Regions from separate parts of the Homo sapiens genome. Here region 2 is linked to region 1. The links are contacts of gene promoters, found by promoter capture Hi-C in blood cells and fetal thymus (Javierre and others, 2016). All regions are on one chromosome and are shown on one strand. The core of a region is centred on a gene start or on the middle of the fragment in contact, and the rest is flanking DNA. Distances in the headings are between cores, read along the strand shown. Region 1 holds the start of UBE2R2 (ubiquitin conjugating enzyme E2 R2). Region 2 overlaps UBAP2 (ubiquitin associated protein 2).

Region 1 (7,799 bases), core at 1,228-3,727:
TGATAAGAGGGGCTGCATTCACTAGGATACTCCCTCTTCTCTGAGGGGAGCTCTAATTCCAGTAGAGTTCGGTCTCAAGACCTGGACAGTAGCGTTGGCGGCTAGAAAAGGATGTTTTAAAACACTGAGACCTCGTCTTTTACAGGAAAAAAAAGGCCAAAAAAAAAGGAGGGGGGGCTGCTTAAGTGTGGATTGTGTAGAGTGACTCCATTCCAAAGAGTACAGTATAGAAAAGGGGAGGAAGGGGCAGAGTAACTTTACAGTAGAAAGACTTGACACACTTCCTCAGCCAGACAATCAAGGTCAACATCAACATTGCTAAGTCATGTTGCTATTTGTGCCCTTAATATGATGTGATGAAATGGCATTTCACCTCTGTGATCTTACCCTCAAAAACTCATAATCCCAGTCTAATCATGAGAAAAGCATCACAATCCCAATTGAGGGACAGTCTACAAAATACTTGACCAGTATTCTTCAAAACTGTTAAGGTCATCAGAACAAAGTCTAAGAAACTGCCACAGTCAAGAGGAATCTACAGAAACAGGAAAACTGAATGTAGTCTGGTATCCTGGATGAGATCCTGGAACAGCAAAAGGTCAGTAGGTAAAAATTAGGGAAGTATGAGCTTCAGTCAACAGTGATGTATCAATATTAGCTCATTAATTGTAATACATGTACTCTACTAATGTAATATGTTAATAAAAGGGGGAACTGGGCGCCAGGTGTAGGGGAACTTGACTATCTTTTCAATTTTTCTATAAATCTAAAACTGTCCTTGGCTGGGCACAGTGGCTCACGCCAGTAATCCCAGCACTTTGGGAGGCTGAGGTGGACGGATCACCTGAGGTCAAGGGTTGGAGACCAGCCTCGCCAACATGGTGAAATCCCGTCTCTACTAAAAATACAAAAATTAGCTGGGCATGGCTGTGCACACCTGTGGTCCTGCTACTTGGGAGACTGAGGTTAGAGGATGGCTTAAGCCCAGGAGGTTACTGCTAGAGTGAGCTATAATCACTCTACTGTACTCCAGCCTGGGCAACAGAGTAAGACCCTGTCTCAATAAAAGGGGTGGGTAGTGGTGGTATCCAGAATACAGCTATGCCTTAAAGTTTTTTTCTTTCAAGTTTCTATGAATCATTAACCATGTGCCAGTCACTACGCTAAATGCTGTACATACATTTAATCATTACAATTGCTTGTGTTGGGTATAATTAATCCCCTTTTACAGAAGCTGATTAAACAGCCGGGTGTGGAGGCATGCACCTGTAGTCCTAGCTACTTGGGAGGCTGAGGTGGGAGAATCGCTTGAACCTGGGAGGCGGAGGTTGCAGTGGGCCATGATCGCGCCACTGTGCTACAGCCTGGGTGACAGAGCAAGACCCTGTCTCAAACAAAACAAAACCAAAAAACAAAAAACTGATGATACAGGGAGAAGTAATGGAACTAGGGTTGGAACCAAGATCTGTCTAGTTCCGAAACTGTGTGTGTAGAACTCTCACAATATTCTGGCTTTTCTAGGAAATGTTTTTTAGGCAGTTATCCTAGGACATGCCTTCCTAGGAGAAAGGAGTACTGTATTCTGAACCACGGGGGGACCAAAGACTGTCCCCACATCTCACTTCGGTTATGATTATCTCGAAAGTCCCTCAGTTCCAGGGTGGACATTCAAGCCACAAGCACCTATAGGGAACTTTGACCCCTAAGTTCAACCACAGTAGTTTATTTTACAAATGGCGAAGGCGAAGGGCAGCCTGAGCACTTGCCCCAAATCACAATGAGAAGGGCTAGAGACCCAGTTTGTTATTGTCTTTTTCCTCACAACTTCCTCTTTGTAGTTAAGAAGGGAAGCAGAAGCTGACCTTTTTGTCTCACCCCGTTTCTCACGTGGAACTGCCGCACCCAGGGTGAGTAACGTGCCAAAGGGCACACTTGCCTGTGGGCTGGCCTGCGGGAAGGTCTGTTCCCACCGAAAAGACCCACATTGTCAGCACATCCTAATCAAGTAGCTACTAAGTGGAGGGACCGCAGACTGGGTGTCACGGGGAGGGGCCTGCAGCGACCAGGCCCGTCCCAGGATGGCTGCGGAGGCCCCTGGATCCACAGTGGGGAGGGCCCCGAGAGCCGGGAGACCTGGGTTCCCTTCCCGGGCACGCCTTTGGAACTGCGGCGTCCAGCCGCACAACCGTCACTCTGGGGCCACGGCAATCCCTGCGCCCGCCCTTGGTCCCCGCTGCTTCTGGGATCTTTATGGGCGGGGGACACGCGCCAGCGTCACAAAGCGCCGCGACCGCGCGGGAGACCGAGAGGAGGCGTGGAAACGGGAGGAGGAGGAGGTGGTAGTGGAGGAGAGCCAGGCACGGTGGGGGGAGGGGAGGGAGGGGCACGCGCACGCGCGTCGGGCCGCCAGCCGCTGAGAGCCGCCCAGCACCCGGCGTGCGCCCCTCCTCCCTCTCTCCCTCCCTCCCTCCCTCCCTGCTTCTCGGCTCCGTTGCTCCCGCGGCGCGAGGCGCTCTCGCTCTCCTCCTCCTCCGCCGTCGCCCCTCCCCCCGCGCAGCCCCCGCCGCCACCGCCGCGAGACCCCCGCACGCCGCTCTCCCCCCACCCTCTCCTGCCCCGCGCGCCCTCCGGCCCCTGCGGCCCCCGAAGAGAACGAGAGGGCGAGCGAGCGCGGCGTTCCCGGGCCGGCCCGGCCCCCTCCCTTCACCATCGCCGGCCCTCCGCCGCCTTCCTCCGCTTCCACCTCCTCTCCCCCCCCCCAAGTTGAGGCCCCCTCCGGGGGGGGGAGGCCCGGGACCGGGACCCGTAGCGAATTCTCCTAACTCCCTCGACCTCTCCTCTCGCCCGGCCCGAGTGTGAGGAGAAGGGCCCGGCCCGGCCTGCGTCGTGTGTGAGGAGGACCCCGGGCGGGCCCACGGGCCGTGTGGGGCCTGGTCTGGCCCGCCGGGTGTGTGAAGACCGGGGCCCGGTGCTGCCCGGCCGGAGGGCGAGCGGAGGGGAGGGGCCTGGTCCGGCCCGGCCGGTGCGTGAGGACTGGGGCCCGGGCCCGGCGCCGCCGCCGCCGCCGCCGCCGCGATGGCCCAGCAGCAGATGACCAGCTCGCAGAAGGCCCTGATGCTCGAGCTGAAATCCCTGCAGGAGGAACCGGTGGAGGGCTTCCGGATCACCCTGGTGGACGAGTCCGACCTCTACAACTGGGAGGTGGCCATCTTCGGACCCCCCAACACCCTCTACGAAGGCGGCTACTTCAAGGTACCCTCACCCTCCTCCCGGACCCTGCTTCCGCGGCCGAGGCCTCCGGCTCCCCGCCGCTTTCTGCAGTTCCTGGGACCAGGAGTATGAGCACGGGCGAGTGGAGGGGGCTTCTCACCCGTGCAGCCCCCTCCCCCATCCCTGGAGGCAGGAAGGCCTTGCTCGCCGAGTGCCTTTTCTTTGTCATGGGGGCGGGGGCTCGGGCGGGGGCGGGAGGGCAGGCTGCACCGGGAAATCGGAGAGCCTCTCTGGTTAGGGTAGTGTCTACGGGCGGAGGAGGCCGCCTTTGTTTCCCCCGCTGAGGGTGGGTGGAAAGAGCGGTGGTCTATCTGTGCTTTTTCGTTCTCCGGTCGGAACCCCTCCCTGCGCAGGCTGGAACTGCCCCAGAGGGCAGGGTGACCTGCACCGACTGGATTGGACTTTTCTTTTTTGGGGGGTGGGGGTGGGGGTGGGGTGGGGGAGGGGCACCAGCTTGTCATTTCAGAAGCTGCCGAGTGCCCTGACATTTTGAGGATTTGTTGGGCATCTTGGGTAGTGGTAGTGCCAACTTTGCATTCCAATGGGTGGTGGTGAAGAATGGGACCCTAGGGGTGGTAAAAAAAAAAAAAAAAAAAAAAAGGGTGCCCGCGTCGTCTTGTCATTATCCATTTGGGGGAACTTTAACCCTCTTTCCGTTCACATTCTCTGCTTACCTCAGTCACTGGTTCTTTCAAAATGCCCTTTGTCCTCACCATGCCACCAAGTTTGCCAACCTTTTTTTCTACAGGTAGAAGTATCCACAAAGGGTGGAACGAGTCATGTAGGGAGACTGATAGCTTCCTACTTTCAGAGACAAAATTGAAACCTGCTCAAGTGGTTAACTCTAGCTAAAGGGGTGGTCTCACAGATGACAAGTATCATCTGAGGCGAGATCGTTTCTCTGGGTGGGATGTATGGTTCCTTAGCGACCACAGACATTGTTTCTGTTGTTTTATATGGTCTTAGAACAGTGGTTATCATTCCAGAATCTAATGATTTTTTTTTAACTCCAAGGTAGTTAACTTGGAGATAATGAGTGTTTGTTTTGTTTTGTTTTTACTTGAGTGTTTTTGCAGGGAGGAATCACAGATTGAAAGTCTGAATATTTTAAATGATGGGGGCAGAGAGAGGAAATGAGTGCTTAGGAATCCATTTAGTTTTATTTTTTTATTTTCAAAATTAAGTAAAATAGGCCAGTGAGTCAATTTTAGTTTGGAAGGGAGGGGTTATCTTGGCACAAGTTTTAAATGAGTATCTTAGTCATGTAGTTGTGATGTGTATTTTTAGGACTACCCAATTACTTAACTCTTGTTTTCTACCCTTCTAAAGGTGGAAACCTCAGTTTTATGCTTGAAATTAGGTCAACTTTGTAGGAAATGGGATTGATACAGGAATGTTTAATATTCACTACTGTATATAGTCACTGAGTACCTAGGAAAAGCACGTTTTTAGAATATTATGTAAGTGCGGTACCCCTACCAACTGTTAGGCTTCATCTTTTGTGGTCAGCCTACCCTATACTTTTCAGATGGAGGTATTTAAAATTACTAAGAAAACATGCAACTTATTAGTAACAAAGTGGAAAAGATATTGCTGTGTTTATGATGAAGCATATTCTCTGTTGTCAAATATAAATTTTTATGCATACTGGAAAAATTAGTTGTACAAAATTGAATGTATGTGATACCTTTCTTTTTTTTTTTTGAGACGGAGTCTCGCTCTGTCACCCTGGCTGGAGTGCAGTGGCGCGATCTCGCCTCACTGCAACCTCCGCCTCCCAGATTCAAGCTATTCTCCTGCCTCAGCCTCCCAAGCTGCTGGGACTACAGGCGCACGCCACCACGCCCAGCTAATTTTTGTATTTTTAGTAGAGATGGGGTTTCACCATATTGGCCAGGCCGGTCTCGAACTCCAGACCCTGTGATCAACCCGCCTCTGCCTCCCAAAGTGCTGGGATTACAGGCGTGAGCCACTGCGCCCGGCCATGATGCCTTTTCTGACAAAACATTGTTTAGCAAAATCTGCTGGCTAATGTTAGTGGAATAAAGTTTGATTTCCAAAAAGTGTCATTGTTTGGTACAACCGATATTTAAAATAAATAAATGGGTACTAGTTAGAATAATCTCACTCCAATAAAGTTAAAAACAAGAGCAAACAAAACAAAACAAAACAAAACTTGTACATGAGAGAAAATAATGGGTTGCAAGTTGTAATATTTGTGCATAAGTCTGGGAAAGGAGTGTGGAGAACCCTCTCTGAAATAGGAAGTATGGAAGGATTCCTTGTGTTAATACACTGATTTAAATTAAATGCTTCTGAACTTCAGTCCTTGTTTAAAAGAATGATTTAATCTCGTGCTTTGTGATGTTAGATTTCTTAAGCTTTGAGTGTTTTTACCTTTAATTCTGACATGTATGAAAATTTGTAAACAGGTTTTATGGTTTAGTCTTGTGTGAGAAGTTTGTTCGATTGTATTTTCGACTACTTTTTCCCTTATATGGCCTTTTATCCCATTAGTTGTTCATTAGAAAAAGGCAAATTTATGGTCATGAGCAGTTGACACTGGGGATATGTTTAAAACCATTGTTTTTATTTTACTGCTTTTGTCTTAAGACAAGGCTTTTAGTGTATTTCACTACAGCTGCAGTTGAAAGTTGGCACAAAGCTTTCCCTACCATATCACTCTTCTCCCTTATTAAATGTTAGTCCTTGAACATTTAGTATAATTTATTTTCAAGTTAAACTCTTTTCCCTTTTTGGCATAGTCATTCGTGAAGGCAGTGGGACTGCCAGTCATTCTTTACATTTTTCATACTGTAATTCCTTTAACTTTTATATATTAATAGGTTTCTAACTGATCTTTTTCACCCTGAAATAGTTGGCTCTTGTCTCTTACCCACAGGATCTGCATTGGAGATTTGTGAGACCTGTATTTCACAGAATTTTTTTATTCATCCTGCTTTCGCTTATTTAATATCGCCAATCCACGTGATTCTTAGTTTTGGGCCATATAGATGTAGGATGGGCAAAGATAGTTTCTTCTGTCCATTCTGAATACTATACAATCTTTTTTGGCCTTACTATCTTTTTGTGTAGTTTCTTATTTTGCTACCTAAGCAAGTCGGAATTTTATTGTTACTAGAAAAATAAATTGTGGATCAAGTCAGTAGCTAATGAAGACTTTTAACAAGTTCACCCCCTTTCTTTTGAAAGGAACTTTTTCAGGGTCTTTCTCTGTCACTTAGTTTGGGGTACAGTGGTGTGATCATGGCTCACTGCAGCTTCCACATCCTAGGCTCAAGCAGTCCTCCCACCTCAGCCCCCTGAGTAGCTGGGACTACAGGCATGACTACGCCCGGCTAATTTTTTTTTCTTCAGTATTGTTAAGTGAGGTAGGGTCTCACTATTTTGTCCAGGCTGGTCTCAAACTCCTGGGTTCAAAGGATCCTCCTTTCTCAGCCACCCAAAGTGCTGGTTTTACAGGCGTCAGCCACCATGCCCGGCTGGAACTATCTTTTCAAATAACTCCTGCTAAGGATTGTAGCTTAGTGTGGGTGCTTTAGTACTGAACCTCCTTGGAACTTTTGCATTATTTATCTAAAGCATTATAGCAGTGAGTCTAGAGCCAGAAAGAGTGCCTCTTTTATGATATGCATAACAAAAAAAAATTTTTTTTTTTTTTGAGATGGAGTCTCACTCTTTTGCCAGGCTGGAGTGCAGTGGCACGATCTCAGCTCACTGCAACCTCTGCCTCCTGGGTTCAAGCGATTCTCTTGCCTCAGCCTCCCGAGTAGCTGGGATTACCGGCGTGCGCCATGAAACCTGGCTAATTCTTTTTGTATTTTTAGTAGAGACAGGGTTTCACCATGTTGGCCAGGCTGGTCTTGAACCCCTGACCTTAAGTGATCTGCCCATCTCAGCCTCCCAAAATGTAATCCTAATTAGAGGCCTGAGCCACCACTCCTGGCCAACCTTTTATAGTTTTGATTTTATTAAATAATTTGATTGAGGTAATGAAATATAGATGTGTTCCATTTTTAGAAAACTCCAGTCTGATAATTTAGAAAGTATTTGTTGTATACTTAAAGTTTTCCTTATTAGGAACATCTTTATTAGACTCAACACTGACATATATATATATATATTTTTTTTTTTTGAGACTGAGTTTTGCTCTTATTGCCCAGGCTGGAGTGCAGTGGAGCGATCTCGGCTCACTGCAACCTCCGCCTCCTGGGTTCAAGCGATTCTTCTGCCTCAGCCTCCTGAGTAGCTGGGATTACAGGCATGCGCCACCATGCCCAGCTAATTCTGTATTTTTGGTAGAGACGAGGTTTCTCCATGTTGGTTAGGCTGGTCTCAAACTCCTGACCTCAGGTGATCCCGCTCACCTCAGCCTCCCAAAGTGCTGGGATTACAGGCCTGAGCCACCACACCTGGCCTACACTGACTTACATTAAAGAAACTCTTCAAAACCTTTTTTTTTTTTTTTTAAGAGATAGGGTCTCACTTTGTTGCCCAGGCTGGAGTGC
Region 2 (7,841 bases), core at 2,990-5,489, 210 kb after region 1:
GAACACACTGTTTTAAAACTGTGATGCATTTAAACAAATGTAAGGCATATCTGTATTTGAGAAAGAATCCATTTGATTTTTTTTTTTTTTTTTTTGAGACGGAGGCTCGCTCCATCACCCAGGCTGGAGTGCAGTGATGTGATCTCAGCTCACTGCAACCTCCGTCTCCCGGGTTCAGGCGATTCTCCTGTCTCAGCCTCCCAAGCAGCTGGGACTACAGACGCCTGCCACCACGCCCGACTAATTTTTGTATTTTTAGTAGAGATGGGGTCTCAACTTGTTGGTCAGGCTGGTTTCGAACTCCAGACCTCGGGTGATCCAACCGCCTCAACCTCCCAAAGTGCTGCAATTACAGACATGAGCCACTGTGCCCGGCCCCATTGGATTATTTTTAAAATCACCTTCAGGCCAGGCACCGTGGCTCACACCTGTAATCCCAACACTTTGGGAAGCCAAGGCAGACAGATCACCTGATGACAGGAGTTCAAGACCAGCCTGGCCAACGTGGTGAAACCCTACCTGTATTAAAAATTCAAAAATTAGCCGGGCATGGTGGCGCACCTCTGTAATCCCAACTACTTAGGAGGCTGAGGCAGGAGAATCGCTTGAAGCCAGGAGGAGGAGGTTGCAGTGAGCTGAGATTGCACCACTGCACTCCAACCTGGGCAACAAGAGCGAGACACCATCTAAAAAAATAAAAATAAAAAAATCACCTTCAGCACTAATACTCTGCAATTCCATCTTAAGTATCTAAAGTGAAGCATCCAAGCTGGGCAAGGTGGCATGCACCTGTAAGTCCCAGCTATTCAGGAGGCTGAGGCAGGAAGATCACTTAACCCACAGTTCAAATCCAGGCTAGGCAACACAGCAAGACCCCTTTTTTTTTTTTTTTTTTTTTTAAGACACAGTCTGGCTTTGTTGCCCAGGCTGGAGTGCAGTGGCACGATCTCGGCCCAGCAACTTCTGCCTTCCAGGTTCAAGTGATTCTCCCACCTCAGCCTCCCAAGTAGCTGGGACTATAGGTATGTGCCACCGTGCCCAGCCGATTTTTTTTGTATTTTTAGTAGAGATGGGGTTTCACCATGTTGGCCAGGCTGGTCTTGAACTCCTGACCTCAAGTGATCCACCAGCCTCAGCCTCCAAAGTGCTGGGATTACAGGTGTGAGCCATCATGCCCAGCCACCTATCTCCTTAAATAAATACATTTTAAGAAAAGAATAAAACAGAATTAAGCATCTAATCAAAAGCTAACTTGTTGAGTAGTATTCCTACCACAAAACCTTTTTAAGAAGTGAGTAGTTTACTCATAGATTTCCAGTTCTGTTGATTGGATTATCTGATCTTTTTCTCACTGTTTATTCTCAGTGACCCCATTTATGAAAATAATCGGCTGGGTGCAGTGGCTCACGCCTGTAATCCCAGCACTTTGGGAGGCCGAGGCAGGCGGATCACGAGGTCAGGAGATGGTGACCATCCTGGCTAATACAGTGAAACCCTGTCTCTACCAAAAATACAAAAAATTAGCCAGGCATGGTGGCACGCGCCTGTAGTCCCAGCTACTCGGGAGGCTGAGGCAGAAGAATCGCTTGAACCCAGGAGGCAGAGGTTGCAGTGAGCTGAGATCGCACCACTCCACTCCAGGGAAACAGAGCAAGACTGTCTCAAAAAAAAAAAAAAAGAAAGAAAATAATCTAGGTGAAATAACAAAATGAGACTTTCTCCATACAGGAGTGCCATCTGGTGATAAAAATCTGCATGTACAGAAGAAATATACTTAACCCATATTCAATGTACATTAATTTTTTGATTTACAGAAAAATGACTTAATCTTTATAGCCTCACTACTATAACCAAACATTTTGATATAATGTACATGAATCCTCACTTGTCAAGGAAGAAAACCATAACTCTTTGTTATAACGCAAACTATTAAAATTTTACTGGTCCATGTTCACAGTATCAACATTAAGACTATATCTCCTTCCAATCATCAATTCTTAATATTCCACAATGAATACGTAATTAGCCTATAAATAATGACCCGGTTGCATGGCTAAACCAGAATAGTTGCTTTGTGAAACATAAAAACTACATGGCTTACTTTATTGTTTGGAAAAAGTTTTTCTCTTAATTAAGGTTTACTGCTCTGGGTTATATATTCATAAATTGTTACTACAAAGACTTCTAGCTTAAAAATAGCAAATACAGGCCGGGTGCAGTAGCTCACGCCTGTAATCCCAGCACTTTGGAGGCCAAGGCAGGCGGATCACGAGGTCAGGAGATCGAGGCCATCCTGGCTAATAAGGTGAAACCCCATCTCTACTAAAAATACAAAAAATTAGCCGGGCATGGTGGCACGCACCTGTAGTCCCAGCTACCCAGGAGGCTGACGCAGGAGAATCGCTTGAACCTGGGAGGCGGAGTCTGCAGGGAGCCGAGATGGCGCCATTGCACTCCAGTCCGGGTGACAGAGCAAGACTCTGTCTCAAAAAAAAATAAAAATAAAAATAGCAAATACAAGGATGGGCGCGGTGGCACACGCCTGTAATCCCAGCATTTTGGGAGGCCGAGCCGGCTGGATCACCTGAGGTCGGGAGTTCAAGACCAGCCCGACCATCTCTACTAAAAATACAAAATTAGCCGGGCGTGGGGGCACATGCCCATAATCCCAGCTACTCAGGAGGCTGAGGCAGGAGAATCGCTTGAACCCGGGAGGAAGAGGTTGCGGTGAGCCAAAATTGCGCCATTGCACTCCAGCCTGGGAAACAACAGCAAAACTCTGTCTCAAAAAAAAAAAAAATAGCAAATACATTCTTTGAAAAATAAAAATAATTGTAAGGGCCTCAGGACATCCAAGAATGCATGCTTAAATAAATTCAGATTAACTTGTCTTCTGTCAGTTGTGCCTCTCCACACTATCACTGAAATGTTATAATACCTAATTCCCTATTCATAAAAAGTCTTAATATTAAAGATGTCCAGCAAAAAAATTTCCAGAGATGAAACAGGTTTCGCACAACAATCACAGGGGATGGGGGATGTGACTGAAATCTTCTGGAAAAACGGGTCAGAAAATAACTTTAACAGGATGCATGATTCAACAGACAAATTTTCCCGTATTAATTTTACATAAAACTTCTGATAAAGCCAGGCGCGGTGGCTAATGCCTGTCATCTCAGCACTTTGGGAGGCTGAGGCGGGTGGATCACTTGCGGTCAGGAGTTCCAGACCAGCCTGGCAAACATGGCGAAACCCTGTCTCTACTAAAACTACAAAAATTAGCTGGGTGTGGTGGCGTGAGCCTGTAATCCCAGCTATTTGGGAGGCTAAGGCAGGAGAATCACTTGAACCCGAGAGGCGGAGGTTGCAGTGAACCGAGATCATGCCACTACACTCCAATCGGGGCGACAGAACAAGACTCTGTCTCCCCAAAAAAAAAAAACTTCTGATAATTGTGAATCCATTAAATCAAGGTAAAAGCGTAAGTTACCAAAATATTCTTCAAGACCCTTAAAAATTGTTACCACCACTGAACTGTAAAAATGACTGAGACATGGAAACTAGACCGTAAAAATCAACACCTTCAACTAACATACTGTTAGGAGGAACTTCTATGTCCTCCTTTTCTGGGAAATGGAGCTGTGTGTAGTAAATAGGAATGCTTCTACAACAAGTACCCAGTTGCCAGACCATAGGAATTCAGTGTACACTTGTGTTCCATCATCTATCACTTTCCACTCCCAAGAGTTCTACTACACTGGAACAGGTTCCAAGAGAATTCTCAGAATAGAAACAGACAAGAGCAAAAGATTCTAAAAATAATCCAGTAGAAACTCAAACATACCTATCTCAAGTTCTTGAGGGGCAGGAAGCACCAGGCTTACTTCAATCTATCCAACCAAATTTTGAAACCCGTATTTATCTCACCTCAAAGTGAATTAAAGATGTGATAGATTTTAACACAGGTAAAGAACTGCTGCTACATTTTTAACTTCTTTAGAAACAAAATCAGCAAAATATAATATAAAGCTTCCTATTAACGATTAAAGTGAAAAAATTGTCTAAATGTAATGAGGAAAGAAAGTCTCCGGCCGAATAAACCAACCTGATAAAACTACAAAGATATTCTCTATGAAAGGAATAGTTTTGGAAAAAAGTTTTAACTGCCTAAAAAGTTTTGTTTCCGTTTTTGTTTTCTTTTTCATAGACATACGATCTTCCCATATTTGCCTAGGCTGGTCTCAAACTCCTGGGCTCAGGTGATCCTCCCACCTTGGCCTCCCAAAGAACTAGGATTACAGGCCTGAGCTACCATGCCCGGTTTAACTGCTGTTTTTTTCAAGGACCTTTCTGAAGATAAGATACCTCAGTGAAACAGCCGCATTTTCAAGTGATCTCAGTTTAGACTTAACTGAAAATGGTTGACTTAACAACCACCAACATTTCTGTTAAAGCTTACATAAGCACAAATTCATCTAACTTTAAGGCATACAAAAAACACGGTCGGGTAAAAACTTTTCTAAAAACCATGTATATACCCTAAACGAAAAGCAAGGACACATTTTATCATTCTGAAAAGTTACAGAACACTTGCTGACAACATACTGAGAAGAGGGAAGATTTCAACAGACATTTAATAAAAGTTTGAACAGTTAATTAAATCCCAAACTACATACTTACACTGCATGTATTTAAGACAGCATCACAAAGCATTGATTGGAAGATAGTTCTAAAACCAGGATGTTGACACACTTGTGCAAAGTATCTCAGCTACTACATCAAATAAATTTACGTTTCAGGAACAGAAAAACTAATGTTTTTTTCAAACCAAATATAATTCAGATGACATGAATTACATAATGGGCTAAGGGTTCAACTACTAAAAACAGGATACACAATTTATGTTAAAGAAGCAAGTCTTCATCAAGAATGTCCAGAGATGCTGTTCACTGAGTCATGAGACCAGTGGTGCAGGGTCTATCTCAAACTGGCAAGGATGGGTCTCAGGTCCTTCATCTATATATGTCCACTCATTCCCAAAATCTAAAACCAATGGTAATGACAATACTAGCAGAAAGCACATACCATTCACTATGTGCCAGACACCATTCTAAGCACTTTATATGTACAGTATTAAGTCACTAATCTTTCCAACACTCTAGAGTACACATTACTTTACTCCCATTTTACAGAGAGGAAACTAAGATACACAGAGAATCACAGCTAGTAAGTGGTGAAGGCAGTATTCAAACCCAGGACATTTGGCTCTACAGTGTGTGCACTTAACTATTATGCTATGTTGTAAGGCTAACTGTTCAGTCACAGATAAATAATAGTTCCCAATTCAGCTTCTTCTTCTATACAACAGCATAACTATTGTTGGCATCACCTGCAAAGCTTGTGCCTGATGACAAAGATCTGGTCTAGATCAGATCTCACCTAGCTTCTCAGCCTTTCAGATACCCATATGTTCTATACTGGTATATTTCTGTGACCACTACTATTATTTTTGTTTAATTTCTAATCTGTGTTCCCGCATTTTCTACTAAGAAAACAGTCAATATTCTCAACCTTCTCTGCAGAGGAAATTCATTTATTCATACCTGCAGAAGACAAAGCTCAGATTAAGAATCTGAGGCCAAGGCCAGGTACGGTGGCTCACACCTGTAATCCCGGCACTTTGGGAGGCTGAGGCGGGAGGATTACTTGAGGTCAGGAGTTTGAGATGAGCCTGGCCAACATAGTGAAACCCTACCCTACTAAAAATACAAAAAATAAGCCAGGTGTGGTGGCGCATGCCTGTAATCCCAGCAAATCGGGAGGCTGAGGCAGGAGAATCCACTTGAATTTATTTATTAAAAAATAAACAAAAGAATCTGGCCTGGCATAGTGGCTCATGCCTGTAACTCCAACAGTCTGGGAGGCCAAGAGGGGGAGGATCGCCTGAGCCCAGGAGTTTAAAACCAGCCTGGGCAACACAGTGAGACCCCATTTCTATTATTTAAAAAAGAAAAAAATAGGCCAGGCACGGTGGCTCACGCCTGTAATCCCAGCACTCTGGGAGGCCAAGGCAGGCGAGTCATGAGGTCAAGAGATCGAGACCATCCTGGCTAACACGGCGAAACCCCATCTCTACTAAAAATACAAAAAAAAAATTAGCCGGGGGTGGTGGCGGGTACCTGTAGCCCCAGCTACTCAGGAGACTGAGGCAGGAGAATGGTGTGAACCTGGGAGGCAAGAGCTTGCAGTGAGCCGAGATTGCACCACTGCACTCCAGGCTGGGCGACAGAGCGAGACTCCATCTCAAAAAAAAAAAAAAGAAAAGAAAAGAATCTCAACTAAATTAGGAGGCCCAGAACAGCCACCAACACAAAGTCTACACCCGTAATCGAGGAGAGAACAAGGTATCTAGGGTGCCAAGAAACTCAACTATGAGATCCAATTCCATGCAGCTCAACTGCTTGTACCCTGCATGCCAGGAGCTGAACAAGCTGATACTTTTATTCTCTGCAGCTGTTAAGGGCAGGGTCAGGCCTCTAGCAGCTGATGGACAAGGTTGAACTCCCCTACACCCACACTTCGCTGACAGAAGAATCACAAAGTTATCTGCTGTTCCATGGATATAACCTGCCCATGGAAAGGATGAGTGCTGGTGAACTCAAACACTATAGGACATCAAAATTTATTTGATATCGTCACAATTCTCTTTCAGGTTACCTAAGGCCACGAAGGGAATTAATTGCCCATAGCTGTTTGCACACATCTGTCCTATTCCTATCCTGCTAATTCAGCTGTAAACCCTGTCTTATTTATTTATTTATTTATTTATTTATTTATTTTGAGATGGAGTTTCACTGTTGTCACCCAGGCTGGAGTGCAGTGGCGCAACACTGGCTCACTGCAACCTCTGCCTCTTGGGTTCAAGCGATTAGCCTGCCTCAGCCTCCCAAGTAGCTGGGATTACAGGCACCCGCCACCACGCCCGGCTAATTTTTTGTATTTTTGGTAGAGATGGGGTTCACCATGTTGGCCAGGCTGGTCTCAAACTCCTGACCTTAAGTGATCCGCCTACCTCAGGCTCTTAAAGTGCTGGGATTACAGACACGAGCCACTGCGACCAGCCTTAAACCTTGTCTTTTGCCCAGCAGGTAACCAGGACTCTTCACCCTGGAATCTCTTGAAAAGCATGTAATTATTCATAACCAGTCTTCACCACTACTTATAACAGTTCTCTCTCTCCTACAAAAAGGAAAAAAAAAAGCAAAAAAGCCTATACTATAAAGCAGGGATCCCCAATCCCCAACTCCCAGGCTGCAGACTGGGGTAATTAGGAACTGGGCCGCACAGCAGGAGGTGAGCAAACCTGGGCGGCGTGGCAAGTCCTCGTCTATACAATAAATTTTTTTTTAATTAGCCACGCTTGGTGGCGCACACCTGGAATCCCACCCATTCAGGAGGTTGAGGTGGTAGGAATCCTTGAGCTTAGGAGATCAAGGCTGCAGTGTGCTATGATCATGTCACCGCACTCCAGACTGGGCAATAGAGTAAGACCACATCTCCTAAAAAATAAAAAAAACTCTTAACAGTTCCTAAAGAAATTAAACAGTTATGATAAAGACCAAGCAATCCTACTCCTGGGTATGCACCCAAGAGAACTGAAAACACGTTCACCTAAAAATGTGTACATAGGGCCAGGCGTAGTGGCTCAGACCTGTAATCCAGCACTTTGGGAGGCTGAGGAGGGTGGATCACCAGAAGGTCAAGAGTTTGAGACCAGCCTGGCCAACATGGTGAAACCTTGTCTCTACTAAAAATATAAAAAATTAGCTGGATGTGGTGGC

What was found. The method cuts DNA at HindIII sites, captures the fragments that hold promoters and counts their contacts. A CHiCAGO score of 5 or more calls a contact.
Region 2: a contact is called between a fragment that was not itself captured here and the fragment with the promoter of UBE2R2 in region 1, in 1 of 17 cell types (fetal thymus). The highest score is 6.3, in fetal thymus.

What each region holds. Positions count from the first base shown.
Region 1 is chr9:33,814,683-33,822,481 of GRCh38, forward strand. It overlaps UBE2R2 (ubiquitin conjugating enzyme E2 R2), which reads left to right and starts at 2,478. Exons shown (of 5, transcript NM_017811.4): 1 at 2,478-3,252. The coding sequence starts at 3,076. It overlaps UBE2R2-AS1 (UBE2R2 antisense RNA 1), which reads right to left and starts at 4,186. Exons shown (of 5, transcript NR_170204.1): 1 at 3,945-4,186. RefSeq lists an enhancer at 1,988-2,077 and silencers at 2,368-2,467, 2,648-2,857, 2,928-3,097. The HindIII fragment of the contact is 11,190 bases long and covers 1-5,649 here.
Region 2 is chr9:34,021,557-34,029,397 of GRCh38, forward strand. The region is part of intron 1 of UBAP2 (ubiquitin associated protein 2); the gene reads right to left. Among named protein-coding and RNA genes, the nearest start is that of UBAP2, 23 kb to the right of the region's middle. RefSeq lists a silencer at 6,522-6,722. The HindIII fragment of the contact is 425 bases long and covers 4,028-4,452 here.